3 separate regions of the Homo sapiens genome follow, and all the other regions are linked to region 2. Evidence: promoter capture Hi-C in 16 types of primary human blood cells and fetal thymus (Javierre and others, 2016). All regions are on one chromosome and are shown on one strand. The core of a region is centred on a gene start or on the middle of the fragment in contact, and the rest is flanking DNA. Distances in the headings are between cores, read along the strand shown. Region 1 overlaps EDRF1 (erythroid differentiation regulatory factor 1). Region 2 holds the start of HMX2 (H6 family homeobox 2). Region 3 overlaps BCCIP (BRCA2 and CDKN1A interacting protein).

Region 1 (3,211 bases), core at 102-2,601, 2.6 Mb before region 2:
AAGCATGTCCTCAGCCAGAGAGAGGCACAAAGACTGGCACCGCCACTCACTACTAAGTTGACCCTGGGCAACTCACTTGAGCTCCTTGATCCTCAGTCTCTCTTTCCATCAAATAGGAATAACAGCATGTGAGGTAGCTAAGAAGATCAAATAAGGTAAAGCATTTAAAGCATTCAGCAAAGTGCTTGGATAAAATAAGCACTCAATAAATGCTATCTATTCTTACCATTGTTGATTCTTAATAGTTCCTCTCTAGTGGAAAGTACATTACACTATCTGCAAAATGGTACAATGCCTCTGGTTTTCTTGTCTCTAAGTCCTCCTTTTCTGTCCTATATGCTATCTCTAAATTAATATTCTAACACAACAAATTTCCCCTCCTAGATGCAAAGCCTTCTGATTCCAGATTACCAACTGAACCAAGTCCATACTCCTTAGCTCAACATTTAAGATCTCCATCATTTGACCATGACTTTTCCAACCTTACTTGCAGCTATTCTGCTACATAAATCCTGTGTTCCCTAGCTGGATTTATTATCAATCCTTTCATGTATTTACACTAGACTTTTAAAATCCAGCTCTTATTTTTTGAGATACTAGCTATCATTCAGGACTCAGTTAAGATGTCCCTTCTTCCACAAAGTCTTTCCTCCAGACCTGAATGGAAGTGCTCACCCCCTTCTCTGATGATCTAGATTTCTGTGTGCTACACTTCTAATTCTTATCTGTCTCCTACTGTTCTCTCTGCATATTATTTCCCATTAGATTATCTCTTTCTGAATAACAACCAAGCTTATTCTTTGTTTTCCTTCAACAATTATTTATTGTTTAAATTCTCAATTTTTTTATTTTTTTGAGACAGGGTCTTGCTCTGTCACTCATACTGGAGTGCAGTGGCACGATCATAGCTCACTGCAGCCTCAAACTCCTGGGCTCAAGTGATCCTCCTGCTTCAAGCCCCCAAGTAGCTGGGACTACAGACATGTACCACCATGCCCAACTAAGTGTGTGCGTTGTTTTTCTACAATTAGGGTCTCACTACGTTGCCCAGGTTGGTCTTGAACTCTCGGCTTCAAGTGATCCTGCTGCCTCAGTCTCCTGAGTAGCTTGGGATTACAGGAATAAGCCAACACGCCTAGCTTCCCCCAACACTTATAATGGGGATACGTGTCTTCTAAACAGAATATGCTCAATAAGAATTTGCTATATAAGCTATCCACCATATGCAATTTTTACAAGACCTTTCCCTAAAACTTTGCATGTACTGAGTAGATATTTGCATAACGAAGAAACGCCTCCATTGTGTAGACACTTTCAGTTAATTATTAATGAGAGCTTGGCATTAAAATTAGAGTTCTATGGCTACAAATGCAGGTTTTCATATATTTATGAACTTCCTCCAAATTACCTGTAAAATTATACTTCTATAACATCTACAATTCTGTTATCACCAACTTAAATGTACACTCAAATTCAGTTTATTCACAGCTATCTTCCCTGGCAAAAATGCACCTTAGTACTTCAGGGCCGTAAAGACTTTGGTGAGGAACTCTCTGTACCAATTTGCATTTGAGAGATCAGAAAAATCACACTGTATCTTACCTGTACAATTCCATTTACATGAAAACACATCACAAGCTCTGGCACATTGCATATCAAGTTGTCCAACCAATAGTCAATTCCAGTTAGCACATTAATTGGTTTGTTGTTATCCCTAAAAATATACATTTCTAGTGTTATTTGGTTTAATTAAGATGTTCCTTAATTAATCATCTGAAAGTTATTTCACCATTTAAGTATCTTAAGCTGTCCTCTCTAGATAGAAAATGCCATCTATGCTTTCTTTTCTGATAAGATATGCACATGCAGCTCAGTGGTTGTGCTATATTTAACATCTTTCCAAAAGCTTGCTTGTATTTCTAACTGACATTGGTAAGTTTTCAGTAAGAATAGAAGACAATATAATAGGAAAGGACGGTGAGCCTACTGCCTGCTCCTCACACACAACTTGAAGAAAGACTGAACACCATACAAGACCATGCTTAAGTTGGAATTCACATTGGCTAATATCAACAAATACACGTGGAGCATTAAGAAAAATGCTCACAAGTAGTTAGTAGGAATCTAACTAATTAAATAAACTCTCTTGAATATTCTCACAAGTTGTAGATTCAGACCTAAGACTAGGCCAGTCCAACAAACCTCTGGCTCTATTCAATGAGGTCTAGAATGAAGACTCAGCTATAGGCCTGCCTTTCAGCATCTGCTGACAGTAGCTCCTTCCTTAATGTGGCCATTTCAACTGGCAGGGGAAGGAGGGAGGGGAAAAAACCTAGAGAAAGAGGAAGATGCCCAAATAGATGGAACACTGATTCTTTTTTGAGACGAGTCTTGCTCTTTCGCCTAGGCTGGAGTGCGGTAGCATGATCTTGGCTCACTGCAACCTCAGTCTGATGGAACACTGATTCTAAAGGAAGAATTTAAATACCATAAGCTTGAGGAGGGGTATGATGTTAGTTCACCTGAGACGTAAGCTGACTGCTGGGTATCTGCCTCCTCCAAATATGGGCATGTTGGAGCCGACCAACATATGGATATCTTCAAATGTCCATAGAATATTCCGAACAAAATCATTTTTAAGACCCTGTGATTTAAAATAGGGAGGATTATAATAAACAGTCAATCTGTAATTTCCCCCCATGATCCATAAAAAGACTAGAAAAAGGAAGAGACAAAGAAGACAAAGTCAGGCCCCAGAGCTAAGATCACAAAGATGCTTAGAAAGCAGTTTCAGGATCAAGTGGAGTTTTTCCCTATCAATTTCGACTTAGGCTAGTTTTGAAATGACAAAGTAGACTGGGGATTTGCTGTCACCTTGGACACCATGGAAAGCATACCTGACTGTGCTCCCCGTCATTGAATAAAGTAATCAGGTTTTGTTCTTTGGGGGCTGAGGCCACATGCCCCACTATGTATGAGGGTTCAAGAGGCTCACTTCCCTGTGAAAAGTGCAAGGATAAGGAGTGATTCTGCTGTCAACATTTCTTAAAATTGACCCACTTTTGAGAGTATCACCTAAATATTCAAAGCACACACTTCAAATCTACCATTGTGAATTATTAGGCCAATACAAATAATAACACGCCTCATTGGGTGGCTTGCTTTGGCTAATGATCATAGCTACTATAAGAAGCGAATCACATTTAGATCT
Region 2 (3,169 bases), core at 452-2,951:
GCTCCGAGCTGCTCAGGTAGCGCTTCATGTCGAAGGTGGACTCGAGCTGGTACACCTGGCTGCGCGAAAAGACGGTGCGCGTCTTCTTCTTGGCCGCGCCGGCCTGCCGCTCAGCGCCGCCGTCCCGCGGCCGCTCGGACCCCGGCGAGGGCGAGCCCGCGGGCAGGAGCCTCTCTTTCTCTTCTTTAAAGTCCGAGTGCGAAGGAGAGAGGAAAGGCGTGCGCTCCAAGCCGCCCGGGCCCGAGCCTCCGCTGCCCTTGGGGGTACCTGAGGAGCGAGAACAGACAGAAAGGCCATGGAGTTGGTTGGGGAGCCTCGGAGACCGCCAGCTCTCCCTGGGACCAAGCGGTTGGCAAGCGCCTGCAGCCTTGGTCCCACCTTACCAATCCCCTCCTCTTATCCCTCTCACTGGCCCCCCAAACCCAGCACCCCGTCCTTTAAAAGCGACAAGAGAGGGACCCAGCTACTTGGAGTATGGGGTCTCTGTGCTCCCACCTTTATGAATGGGCCAGGGGCAACAGGGAGAGGAGGTCTGGAGGGGGAAACATTAGCATGGTTTTAAAAGGCGAATTTGCTTGGTGGTAATTGAGCTGGAAGAGTTCCTCGAGCTTTATAGGGTGGCATCATTTCACAGGCCGTTTGTTTGGAAATCACGCTAAGGACTAACGCAGGACTCCCCTTCGTCAAATGTTGTAAAGAGGAACCGTCTCTGAAATGCACCATTGTCAATCATCTTGGAGTGCTAATCATTCCAAGGAGGAGAGAGAGAGAAAGGCAGAGATACGGAGCGAGTGAGGAAGAAGACTCAGAAAGAGATTACGGTGGAGACAGACTGCCCAGACCCGACTTGCAGATCTCCACCTCGTGTCCGGAAAGAAAGTACCAGATGTGCAGTGATTGAGGACAGCCGGGTGTAAGGCCGGCCGCGTGTCCCTCTCGCTGTGGTCCACTCTCTCAACAACTCAACCTTCCCCAGGAAGCCCAAGCCGGCACGGGTCTGTGTTCGCCTGCTCCCAGGGGCCCACCGGGCGGAGGAGGCACCACAGTGCGCGCCCCTCTCCCCGCGGTCCCGAACCCCCGGCTGCCGCAGCTCTGGCCAGAGGGGGCCCGGCGCGGGAGTCTTGGCGGGGCGCTCAGCCTCCCTCCCCTCGCGCTCGCTCGCTGCCACACTGGCGACGTGCGATCCTTACCCAGGCAAGGAAAAGGGATGGGGGGATGGTGCTTGGGGCCCTGCTCCTTAGGGCCGTGCTGGTCTGGGCAGAAGCAGGCGGGCGCCTTCCAGCCGTCGTCCGGCTCCTCCTCCTCCGAGGACACGGACAGGCTGCGCTTCCTGGCTGGCCAGCCGACGGGCTCCCGCGGTGCCTCCGAGGGGCCCCCGCCCAGGATGGACTGGATGGTGAAGCTGGAGACGCCACCGGCCGCCGGACACCCCTTGCCCGCATCTTCTTTGCTGCCCATCCTGGGTTCATAAGAAATCGAAGGAAACCAAGAACTCCCTTTAGAGACGATCTGGGTGATCTGGGTGGAAGGTGGTGCAGCAGGCAGGCAGTGGGGAGGGGCGGGGAGGAAATCTAGGGGGAGGGGGCGCCGAGGCTGGTGAGGCGTCCCTTCCGCGCCAGGGACATGCAGGCACCGGATGGCTGCGCAGGGGTTCCTGCCCGCCTGGCTCTGGGTGCGCCCGCCCAGCCCCGGTGCAAATGCCCCTTCCTCGCCCGCCAACTCGCCGGGTCTCCGGCGGCGCGGAGGCGGCGCGGCCTCATTTGCATAGAGGTTACCCGAACGCGGCCAATCGCAGCGCCGCCGAGCGGCCCCGGAAAATTTCAAAACGCTCCGGCCAGGCACACAGCACCGGTGCGCCCCCAGAGCGCGCCGAGGGCCTGGCGGGCATCAGCGGCGTCTAACCAGGGGCAGCCAGGGCTGAAAGCAGCTGCAGATTCTAGCCCGGGTTCCTGGCGGCTGCGGCAACTCCGACTCCTTGGACCCCTTGGACCCTTCTCTCCAGAGGCAGGGGCGGTGCGGGACTCGGAGCTGGAGTGGCTCGACGCCTCCGCAGGCGACGGGTCTCCGCGCCTCCCAGGGGCTTGTACAGGCTGCTCCACCATCCTCCCCCAGCCCTCCACCCCTTCTAGCCCCAGTGGGCGGGCAAAGCCGGCACTCCTGGGACCGTGGCGCCCTGCGTGGGGGTGAGGTGGGTTAGGAGCAGGCGTCTCCAGGCGGACGCTCATCCTCTCCAGCATGGCCAGGAGCCTTGGGAGCAGACATTCCCCTTCCCCGTCTGCAGACCTCATCCCTGTCACAGGTTCTACGGACCTACAGAATCTTTAGGGGGAGGGAGGAAGCCCTAAGACCTCTAGTCAAGAGATCTGGGTTCAAATTCCGGCACAACTATTTACACACTGCATGAACTTGCACAACTCATGCCGATTAAAGCCTCTCTGCCCTCATAGTTGAAAATAACTTCTCGGATTGCCTCAGGTAGGGATTAAAAGCCTCGAAGCACTAGCAGCGCATAGTAGGTACTCCATAAACCTGGCCGGGTAGCCCATGGCCCACCCGTGTTTTAAGCGAATCTGTGTTTTTGTTTTGTAAATTTTGAAGGTTTCCGAACTGCTGCAGAAATAGACGCCTTACTCCCAGGAAGAAGATAAGGAACTGGTGACAGGACTCGGTTTTAGAATTGAGCAGACTCGACTCAATTCTCGGCTGGGTGATCTTGGGGGAAGACATTTGGAAATTCTGAGGCTCGGTTTCTTTATTCCTAAAATTGGAGGAAGCAGTGCCTCCCTCGCAGAGGCTGTTGTGAGGTCAAACTACCCAGCACCGAGCCTGGCACACCGTGGTGCTCAGTAAATAGTGATTCCCTCTGTGTTCTCATAGCCCCCTTCTGTGCCCTGGCTCTCGCCCCTTTAATTCCTAGATCAGCTGTTACCCGAGCTAGAATTAGCCCAGCCAAGCAAAGCGGTTTGGGGCCACAGTCGTCTGCACAAGCTTCCTGGAAACTGAAGTGAGGCAAGGCCCGAAGTGCTCAGGCAACCCCGTCCCCTCAAGCTGTGACCTCTAGACCTCTTGGCCAAGAGATTCCAGAAGCCCTGTCTTTAGGGTGCCCCCCAAGTGCAGCCAAGGGTGAGTGGAGACTCTGGAATCAGTCCCCACAAATGTCCAGACACTG
Region 3 (3,405 bases), core at 217-2,716, 2.7 Mb before region 2:
TTAACATTCAGACACACTGGAATGGCAACTCTAGTCCATCTCATAAAGATAGATGGAAGTAACTGGACAGTTTATTTCAAAATTAAAGACTAAGTGTAGCCTGCATCTTATTCTGAGGTGGGTAAGCAGCTGGTTTACTTTTTATTACAACTCATCAGAGAATCAATAAAAAGAGATGAATCGAAACAAAATAAAATGTCAGTAAATGCCCTCAACATTGAGGCAGCAAAGCCTGAGAATATCCCCACTACACAAGTAGCAAAGATAACAGCTGCAGAGAGACAGCACAAACAGCTCCTGCATCAGTACCAACATCAGGACTGCAAAGCCAGATGATTCCCTAAACCACAGGGAGTAAACAACTTTAACTGGGTACAGACCCAACACCACCACCTTCATATTGAAAAAGGATTACAATAAGATTTCACAAGAGCACTTATCCCTATAGTTAATATCACTGTTTAACATAAAAGACATTTTCACCATGCATTAAATAAAAGTGGTTTTGGCCTAAGAAATAACCATTCAGATGCCATCCAGTGAAACCAACCTTTCTTTCAGTTAAATTTAAAAGGCTTATGAAACCAAAAACCTCATCTTCATCCATATCATCATTGCTGTCTTCTGAAACATCCGTTTGCTATTTTAAAAGAAAAAATATTTAAATGTTATATTTAGTATAATACCAAGAGTATAAAACCAAGTCTTGGGATGTAGGCCTCATTTATCTTTTCACTTTTCAAAAGCAAAACTTTGTTTTACCACCGCCATCTTAGAAAGCATTGTATTTTAAATACTGTCACAGTTTTACCACCATCATCTTGGAAAGCATTGTATCTTAAATACTGTGTGACCTTGTTCATTTCGCTTTACCTCGACTCTGTTCCTCTTTTCAGATTCTGAACAGATTGAAATTTCTTTGTACCAGATTAAGTCATTTTCTTTTATCAGATTCTCAATATAATACAAATCCAGAAGAGATAAACCTCATGAAATAAAGCATTTTCATTTGTTTTCTACACAATTAGGCTGGAGCCAAGCCTTGCTTCTCTGCTGGCCCACAGCATTGTTTCATCTAAAACTCATGAGTTTCCAGAACACTTGTCAGTCTTGACCATTAGTGAAGCTAGGCAATGCTTGAGGGCCACTTACACCTATCACATTAGCAAGAGAGAAGGGGAAAAAAGAGAACCCCCTGCCCTTTGTTCTATGATCCTAGGGACTGGCTCCACCGAACACTATGGGTAGTCCCTTTACTAAGAACAAGAAGTCTCTATCCTCAGGACACCTCAAGTGTCTCTGGAGAATCCCAAGAAGCCACAGTTACAACTGCAGAGCTATTGATGTGATTATCCATTTAAAGAGTGAATCCTGCCATTAGATAATAACCTCTTTCAAGGATAAAAATAACTGCTTCTCCTCCATATCCATTAGGTCTTCTAAGACACGAATCAGCTAGAGATCACATTTATTTGATGAAAGGGCAGGTGGTCTGCTTTTTCCCATTGCCCTAATAAAAGGAATGCCCCATAGGTTTAATTTCTCATTTTCTTTACATTGAGTGCCATAAAGTTACTAATATTGTCAGAAGCCTTGAAAAGTGTACACTGTATTTAGTAACAAGTATGTTGGTGACCCTATCACTCAGTGTCCGAATTTTAGTGGTGTAAAAGTCAGATAAGAGTGTCTGAAGAATGAATAGGAGGACAGGAAGTAGAAACCATGACTTAAGATTACTTTTCAAGAATTTTGGCTCTGAAGGTGATGTACTTAAGAGTGGAACATTAGACTGAATGGAGCTTTTGTTTGTTGTGTTTTTCACAACAGGCTAGGGAACAGGTGCTAGGAACAGGAAAAAGACATCAACAGTGACAGCTACACATATGTAGCACATGTCAGCTGCCAGACACTGTTTTAAGCAGTCAGCAATTCATTTTGTTTACCCATGCACTCTACAAGATCGGTGCTAGTACCATCCTCATTTTCAGAGACAGAAATGGAAACAGATTAAGGTACTGTGGCAGACTGTATCTTTCACAGATGGCCCCAATGGATCTCTCCTTGGACATGCTCTTCTGACAAAGTGACCTAGGTACTTTTCTCATGGAGTGGTGGGATCAATGTGCCCTCCCCCTAGATAGAAATTTCTATCTGTAAAGACTAAGCAAATGGTGGAAATGGCACTATATCACTTCTGCCTGCTTCTTTTGGGCAGCTTGCTCTTGGAAGCAAACCAATGTGTGACGAGGCCCACATGGAGAAGAACTAAGGCCCCTGGTCCAGAGTCCCAGCTAAGCTCCCGACAGACAGCTAGGGCTAACTTGCCAGTCATGTGAGTGAGCCATCTTGAAAGGGAATCCTCCAGCCCCTAGTCAAGCCACCCCAGCTAACATGATGGAGCAGGAGCACAGATGAGTTGTGCCCACTGAGCTCTGTCCAAACTGTAGATCCATTAGCCAAATAAATGACTACTGCTATTTTACGACACTAAGCTATGGGGTGGTTTGTTATACAAACAACAGATAACCCAAAGAACCACCAGATGATAAGCAGCAGACCCAGGGTCTAAACCAGTCCTTATTTTGTTGAGCTCTCTACAACATCTATCTGATAAAGATGACCATCCCCTCCTCCTTCAAATGTTATCTTTCTTGCTGTGTATGACATCACTGCACTATTGTTTCTTCTACTTCTCCTGTCATCCCTTTTAATCTCCTTTGCTGGCTCTGCCACTTATATTACTCATCGAAGTATTCTTGGTATTACTAAGGTGTCTGTCCCTTCCCTCCCTGCGCAATCTCAATCACTTCTACGACCTCAGTAACATTTACGACCAACTCCCAAGTCTCCAGGGCTCCACCTGCTACCCGGTATCTCACAGGTAACTCAAACTCAAAATGTACAAATCCAAATTCACATTCCCCCTCCTAATTTGACCTTCCTCCATGTTTGTTATCCTGTTTGCTCAAGCTAGAAACCTGGAAGTCATCCTTGACTCCTTTTCCTCTCACTTTCAGACCCAATCAGGGACTAAACCTCATCATATTTCATCTCCCAAATATTTTCTAAATGAGCCCACTTCTCTCCCTCTCCATTGCCCCCACCTGGACTACTGCATTTAATAAGCTTGGATTTCTGCAATGACTTCTGATCAGTCTCCATTCCTCCAGTAATACTGCTTCCAATTTGAGCTAAACAGAATAAAGAACTTTTTTTTTTTTTTTTTTTTTTTTTCAGATATAGGGTCTTGCTGTGTTGCCCGGCTAGAGTGCAGCGGCACAAAGCTCACCATGGCCTTCAACTTCTTGGCTCAAGAGATCCTCCTACCTCAGCCACCTGGGTAAAAAGACTACAGGCATGTGCTACTATGCCCGGCTAATTTTTTGTTATTTTTTGTAGAGACAG

What was found. Contacts are between HindIII fragments. The CHiCAGO score rates a contact against its expected background, and 5 or more counts as called.
Region 1: a fragment that was not itself captured here is called in contact with the fragment with the promoter of HMX2 in region 2 in 1 of 17 cell types (neutrophils); the score reaches 6.2 in neutrophils.
Region 3: a fragment that was not itself captured here is called in contact with the fragment with the promoter of HMX2 in region 2 in 1 of 17 cell types (monocytes); the score reaches 5.4 in monocytes.

Annotation. Positions count from the first base shown.
Region 1 is chr10:125,728,791-125,732,001 of GRCh38, reverse strand. EDRF1 (erythroid differentiation regulatory factor 1) reads right to left here. Exons shown (of 25, transcript NM_001202438.2): 7 at 2,898-2,999; 8 at 2,523-2,644; 9 at 1,603-1,714. Among named protein-coding and RNA genes, the nearest start is that of EDRF1, 11 kb to the right of the region's middle. The HindIII fragment of the contact is 1,114 bases long and covers 795-1,908 here.
Region 2 is chr10:123,146,668-123,149,836 of GRCh38, reverse strand. It overlaps HMX2 (H6 family homeobox 2), which reads right to left and starts at 1,701. Exons shown (of 2, transcript NM_005519.2): 1 at 1,191-1,701; 2 at 1-267. The coding sequence starts at 1,458. RefSeq lists silencers at 992-1,121, 1,512-1,831. The HindIII fragment of the contact is 9,748 bases long and covers 1-2,990 here.
Region 3 is chr10:125,827,797-125,831,201 of GRCh38, reverse strand. BCCIP (BRCA2 and CDKN1A interacting protein) reads right to left here. Exons shown (of 7, transcript NM_078468.3): 4 at 551-640. Among named protein-coding and RNA genes, the nearest start is that of BCCIP, 6.0 kb to the right of the region's middle. The HindIII fragment of the contact is 3,325 bases long and covers 1-3,128 here.